Regions from separate parts of the Homo sapiens genome. Here region 2 is linked to region 1. Evidence: promoter capture Hi-C in human tissues and cell types (Jung and others, 2019). All regions are on one chromosome and are shown on one strand. Each heading gives the region's core, a stretch centred on a gene start or on the middle of the fragment in contact. The rest is flanking DNA. Distances are from core to core; before and after follow the strand shown.

What was found. Contacts are between HindIII fragments. The study calls those that stand out against the background at their distance.
Region 2: a contact is called between a fragment that was not itself captured here and the fragment with the promoter of ZDHHC4 in region 1, in 1 of the 25 tissues and cell types used here (mesendoderm cells).

What each region holds. Positions count from the first base shown.
Region 1 is chr7:6,575,429-6,578,729 of GRCh38, reverse strand. It overlaps ZDHHC4 (zDHHC palmitoyltransferase 4), which reads right to left and starts at 1,276. Exons shown (of 8, transcript NM_001134389.2): 1 at 1,232-1,276; 2 at 10-164. RefSeq lists an enhancer at 33-648 and a silencer at 927-1,256. The HindIII fragment of the contact is 8,419 bases long and covers 1-3,301 here.
Region 2 is chr7:6,916,801-6,920,076 of GRCh38, reverse strand. No RefSeq gene overlaps it. Among named protein-coding and RNA genes, the nearest start is that of CCZ1B, 92 kb to the right of the region's middle. The HindIII fragment of the contact is 5,631 bases long and covers 1-3,276 here.

The sequences.
Region 1 (3,301 bases), core at 27-2,526:
CCAGCCTACATTTCTCTTGGTTGGGTAATTTTCAGCCGGCAGCTCTGGCATTCCTCTTCCCAACATTCACAGATAATTCAAACAGCAGCTCCTCTTGGGCAGCAGTGTGTGCCTGGCATGACCAGTAGCTGCCGGACATGGTTCTTCCAGGAGCCTGGATCTGGCTGCAGAGACAGATCAATTCAACACCCACATAAGACGACAAGAGTTGCAGTCAAAGGCAGAATACCTGTGGAAAAGGATTTGGAAGTAGGGGATTTTCAGCACCCCCAGCATGAATGGGTAAGACTTTGGGAGAAATGGCCCAGACTAAGTTGCTTAGGCCTGCTCCCAAATCTTTGGGAGGCCCAGGCAGGAGGATAGCTTGAGGTTAAGAGTTCGAGACCAGCCTGGGCAACACAGTGAGATCACTGTCCCTACATAAAAATTTAAAAATCAGTGGGGCGTGGTGGCCCGCGCCTGTGGTCCCAGCTACTTGGGAGGCTGAGGTGGAAGGATGGCTTGAGCCCAGGAGGTCGAGGCTGCAGTGAGCTGTGATCGTGCCACTGCCTTCCAGCCTGGGCCATAGAGCTGGACCCCATCTCTAAAAACAATAAAAGAGGCCGGGCGCGGTGGCTCACGCCTATAATCCCAGCACTTTGGGAGGCCGAGGCGGGTAGAACACCTGAGGTCAGGAGTTCGAGACCAGCCTGACCAACATGGTGAAATCCGTCTCTACTAAATACAAAAAAAATTAGCTGGGCGTGATGGCGCATGCCTGTAATCCAAGCTACTGGGGAGGCTGAGGCAGAATTGCTTGAATCCGGGAGGCGGAGGGTGCAGTAAGCCGAGATCGCGCCACTGCACTACAGCCTGGGAAACAAGAGCGAAACCCCGTCTCAAAATACAATAATAATAAAGACTTTGTGAGAAACAGCTAGTTGGGAAGAAATAAGCCAAGTCGGTAGCCTTGGGTCTCTCCCCGCCACTCCCCATTAGGGCCTCCCGAAGCCACCCCCATCCAAGGCACCTCCTGGGCGGGCCTGGTCGGAGATTTCCCTGGGGGCTGGAGCCCTGGTAGGGGGACGTGGAGTGCAGCAGGCTCGGAGGGGACACCGGGGCCGCCCCGGACTCGGGCGAGGTGGGGGTGGGACGGCGGCCCTACACACAAGGGGAAAGGGAGGGTCAGAGGAGGAGACTGACGGTCCTGGGACAGCCCAAGCTTCCCACAGCCCCGCGGAGGCGGCCTTACCGCCAGCCGCTGGGCTCCGGCGCCTCCCGGGCGCGATACGAGACTTCCTGCGGGCTCGTGACATCAGCACGGCGCCCCTGAGGGGCTGACTTCCGGCGGAAGTGTGCGAGGGCCGCCGCGGGTTGCGGGGCTGGAGTAACAGTGACCTCCCCGGCGCCCTCGCAGCCAGCCTGGGGACCTCCGTGGCCGGGTGTAACCGCTGGGAAGTGCGATTTTATTTTATTTTATTTTATTTTATTTTATTTTATTTTATTTTATTTTATTTTATTTTATTTATTTTATTTTATTTATTTTATTTTATTTATTTTATTTTATTTATTTTATTTTATTTATTTTATTTTATTTTATTTTATTTTATTTTATTTTATTTTATTTATTTTATTTTATGTATTACCTATTTTCTTATTTACTTATGTATTCGTTCATTCATTCAGAAACAGCCTCGCTCTGTCGCCCAAGCCGGAGTGCAATGGCGCTATCCTAGCACACTACAACCTCCAACTCCTGGGCTCAAGCAATGCCTCCTGCCTCAGCCTCCCAAGTAGCTGGGACCACAGGTGCATGCCACCACACCCGCCTAATTTTTTTTTTTTTTTTTTTTTTTTTGTAGAGACGGGTGTCTCACTATGTTGCCCAAGCTGATCTCGAACTCCCGGGCTCAAGTGATCCTCCCACCTCGGCCTCCCAGAGTGTTGAGATTACAGGCGTGAGTCCCTGCACTGGGCTGGAAGTGGGATTTTAGAGCAGTATTGCCAGGAGACTTACAGGAGGACCGACCTGGGCCTGGTGGGGGCGATCATTCTGGGGCTGTGACAGGGACTAAGCTGCCCTGCGGCCTGCACAGAGACCAGTCATGTCCCTGCTCAGAGCCCAGCAGGGGGATCCAGGTGGCCCAGGGCAGTCACACTTAGGGGGCTCTCAGACTATGTCTGTGTGGTGGACAGAGTTTGCTTTCAGCCACCCACACTGTTGAGATCTAGCAGAACATTTCCAGCATCTTCCGTTGCAGAAGCGGGCAGAAAGCACAATGTGTACCCATCAGTCAGATTCCGCTCCATGTGTGTCCTTGCTCCTGATGACAAGGACATGTTGCTCTGTACAGCCCTAAATATCCTCGGGGCAGTGACAAATACTTGACCACAAACGTTGAGGATAAAAGGGAAGGGTGTTTGATGCTAGGCAGGCTTGGGGTAACAAGAGCTGCTTCCAAACATAGCCCTGAGAAGGCCCTGTGGGGTGTCCTTTGCTCTGACCATCTCTGAATCAGCTGAGGCCAGGGTCTATTCCTGATGCCTCTGAAGACCTGAGCCAGGCCTGTCCTCCTTTGAGGGGAAATGTCTGATCTCCAAACACTGGCCTTAAAGCTCTTCTCTTTTCCTGTCTCTTTGCTACCTACGTCAGCTTCTTGATGCGTTTTCTTTTCCTTTTTATGAAACTCCTTACCAACAGGATGCCTTCTCCTGTGTACATTGTATCCAAGGTCTTCATAAATTTATGGACCCAGAATTGAAAAACCAAGGCTCATACCTATAATTCCAGCACTTCAGGAGGCCGAGGTGGGAGGATCGCTTGAGCCCAGGAGTTTGGGAACAGTCTGGGCAACATATGGAGACCTTGTCTCTACAAAAAATTTAAAAATTAGCCGGGTGTGCTGGCATGCACATGTGGTCCCAGCTACTTAGGAAGCTGAGGTGGGAGGATTGTTTGAGCCCAGGAGGTCAAGGCTGCAGTGCGTTAGGATCACACCACTGCATTCCAGCCTGGACCACAAAACAAGACCCTGGTTCAGAAAAAAAAAAAAAAAAAGATTAATCTCTCAGCACTTGGTCAGTTCCTGAAACCTAGGCATGTTTGATTTTTTGCCTCTTTAAAACATCCAAGCGCAAACCTTGACACCTGCATTTTATAAATAGCATAAGAGAAAACAGACTACTTAAGCTTAAAACCAAAAATTCAAGTGTGATCAAAAGGATTGCCTTGCTTGTGATGCATGGAGCAAAGAATTCCTCTTTGGAGTGTTGCTAAACGCTCCTGTCAGCTCCTGAAACTGGACCTGCAGTATCAGTTTTT
Region 2 (3,276 bases), core at 361-2,860, 340 kb before region 1:
AAGATCAGATCTCAAAACAAGCAGACATGGGGGGCTCAGAAAGTCCCCAGCCTAGAACTTTCCTGTCACCCAATGACACTAAAGGCTAAGCTGGCTGCTTATTATTCTGGATTCACACTAGAATGACCTTGGGGTGTGTTTCACACATGCCGATGTCTGGAGTTTCACCCCCAGCTAACTGACTATGAATCTCTGGGTTGGAGCCTGGGCACTGATATTCATGCAGAGCTTCTGAGATGATCCTATTGCATTGCCAAGGTTGACATCTGCAAAAACATTGCACACTTTTTCATTCATTTAGTTATTAAATATGTAATATTTATTATTATTTTTCCAGACACAGAAGCGCTGCAAGAATAGTACAAAGACATCCTTTATACCCTTCGCTGACATTCCCCAGTGCTACCATTTTACCCCATTTGTTTATTGTTTTCTAAGTGGCAGAGGTGGGTGGATCACCTGAGGTTGGGAGTTTGAGACCAGCCTGACCAACATGGAGAAACCCCATCTCTACTAAAAATACAAAATTACCGGGGCGTGGTGGTGCTTGCCTATAATCCCAGCTGAAGCAGAAGACTTGCTTGTACCCAGGAGGCGGATGTTGCGGTGAGCCGAGATGATGCCATTGGACTCCGGCCTGGGCAACAAGAGTGGAACAATGTCTCAAAAAAAGAAGAACTGTTCTGTCTGCCAGCAAGAGAAACAGAGACTGCCCACAACTGCCAGGCACATTCCCTGGTGGGAAAGCTCTTAACGTCACTGGCAAGTGAGATGGATGCTGGCAGCCCTGGGGGAGCTGCATCTAGGTCTTTACAGGAATAGACGCTGTCTCTGGACTGGGCTTTGTTTGTGTGGTAGAAGATGCAAACTCTCGGAGTGCCATTAAAAACAAGAAAAAAGGCCAGACACGGTGGCTCATGCCTGTAATCCCAGCACTTTGGGAGGCTGAGGTGGGCGGATCACTTGAGGTCAGGAGTTCAAGACCAGCCTGGCCAATATGGTGAAACCCACTCTCTACTAAAAATACAAAAATTAGCCAGGTGTGGTGGCAGGTGGCTGTAGTCCCAGCTACTTGGGAGGCTGAGGCAGGAGAATCAATTGAGCCTGGGAGGTGGAGGTTGCAGTGAGCTGAGATGGCGCCAGTGCACTCCAGCCTGGATGTCAGAGCGAGACTCTTTCTCAAAACAAAACAAAACATAGATTCAAACATAAAATGAGGAGGAATTTTAAGACAGTAAGAGCAGAGCATTAAGCCACGCTCGGGGTCCCTCTCAGCATGGGGCACTGTGTGACTGCACAGGCCAAACACCCATGAATTCATCTCAATTTCCATCCCTCTCACACTCTTCCCCACTGCTGTGGTCTCAGCTGGCACCTTCCTCATTTCTACTCCGGAGGACTGCCTGTACCCTGATTTCTTCAAGGGTGTCTCCAGTCCATCAGACGCAGGCCAACCCAGGGTTTCTCTGCATTGCAATCCAACCAGCATCACCCCCCTGCTTACCAGCCTGCAGTAGCTCTCATGTCCCTTCAGGTTAAAATTCAGACTTCTTAGCAAGGCACTGCTTATTTCTCCAGCCTCTGTGACAGCCTCACACCCTACAATTGAGCTCTGCTGATCCTGGAGAAGTTCCCTCTGAGCCTTTGCACTCCTGTCCCTGCTACTTGACGGTGATTTCCACCTGGTTACCTCCTGGCGTCACCTCCCACCTGGAAGCCTTCCTCATCTCTGGGGTGGGTCAGATGTAGCCGGTTTTGCCCTCTTCCTACACACCCTGCGTTTCCTCTCTCCCAGCGTTCATCTCGTGATATACAATAAGCAATTGACTAATTTGTCCTTAAGACCAGGGCCATACCATGTCTTCCTGGTGACAAATGAGGGAGCAGCGAGCGCTTTTGCCCTCTAATGGCATCTCTGGATCACTAGCTGGAGGTCTTGGAACTCTAAGAGCCAAGCTATTCAAGTGCTACAAATAACACTGCATGGCCCCCGGTCTTTCCTGATTCCTCTCTGCATCTATCAAGAAGGAGCAGCTGTTTTTTGAAGCCCTTCTTTCCTTCTCATGGCTTTGCTCATCCCCACCCTGCTTGGCCTCCAAACTCAGAGCCTTAACTTTCCTATAAATACAGTTTCTCTCCAACTCAACTTGATTCATTCATGCAGGATCCTAGTTCTCTCTCTCTGCCTTTCCAATTCTCCTCTTTCCATTACATTTAAGAGAACCCTGGCTGGGCATGGTGGCTCACACCTGCAATCCCAACACTTTGGGAGGCCAAGGTAGGTGGATCATCTGAGGTCAGGAGTTTGAGACCAACCTGGCCAATATGGCAAAACCCCGTCTCTACTAAAAAACAAAAATTGGCTGGGTGTGGTGGCACATGCCTGTAGTCCCAGCTACTCGGGATGCTGAGGCAGGAGAATCGCTTGAACCTAAGAGGCAGAGGTTGCAATCACACCACTGCACTCCAGCTTGGGTGGCAGAGTGAGACTCTGTCTCAAAAAAAAACCCCAAAGCAACCAAGAAAAGGGCATTCATTTATGGTATAAGAGCGGAAACCAAAAGGAGCTCCTCGATGGAGCTCTGCTGGGACCGTGCATATCAGCCATTCAACCTCTTCAGCACTTGGCGCACATCCAGGAAAGCCCTGCTGGGATTGATTTAGGGGCTATAAATAAACATTATCAAGTACGTGAATTTACAGCTGCAGAATCTGCAGGTAATGAGGATTGATGGTAGATGCACCGATGAACTGGAGGTCAGATTTTAAACTGAACTGTCCAGGACATGGCCAGCAACCAAGAGCTAGAAAAAAGGATTCCTGGAAGGTGGTGAAGAAAATAGAAATCTTAGAGGCTCAGAGACAGACGAAGGTAATCCCTCAGCTGTCACCTGAGCTGTGGCTATAAAATGAGGCAACAGATTAAGAATTGTAAGCATAAGATTGAGGCCAGGCTCAGTAGCTCATGCCTATAATCCCAGCACTTTGGGAGGCCAAGGCAGATGGATCATTTGAGGTTGGGAGTTAGAGAGCAGCCTGGCCAACATGGTGAAACTCCATCTGTAGTAAAAATACAAAAAAAGTTAGCCGGGTGTGGTGGCGCACGCCTGTAATCCCAGCTACTTGGGAGGCCAAGGCAGGAGAATCACTTGAACTGGGGAGGCGGAGGTTGCAGTGAGCTGAGATCTCGACACAGCACTCCAGCCTGGGCAACAGAGCAAGACTACATCTCAAAAAGAAAAAAAAAAGAAAAAGAAAAAGAAAAAAAAGATTGGG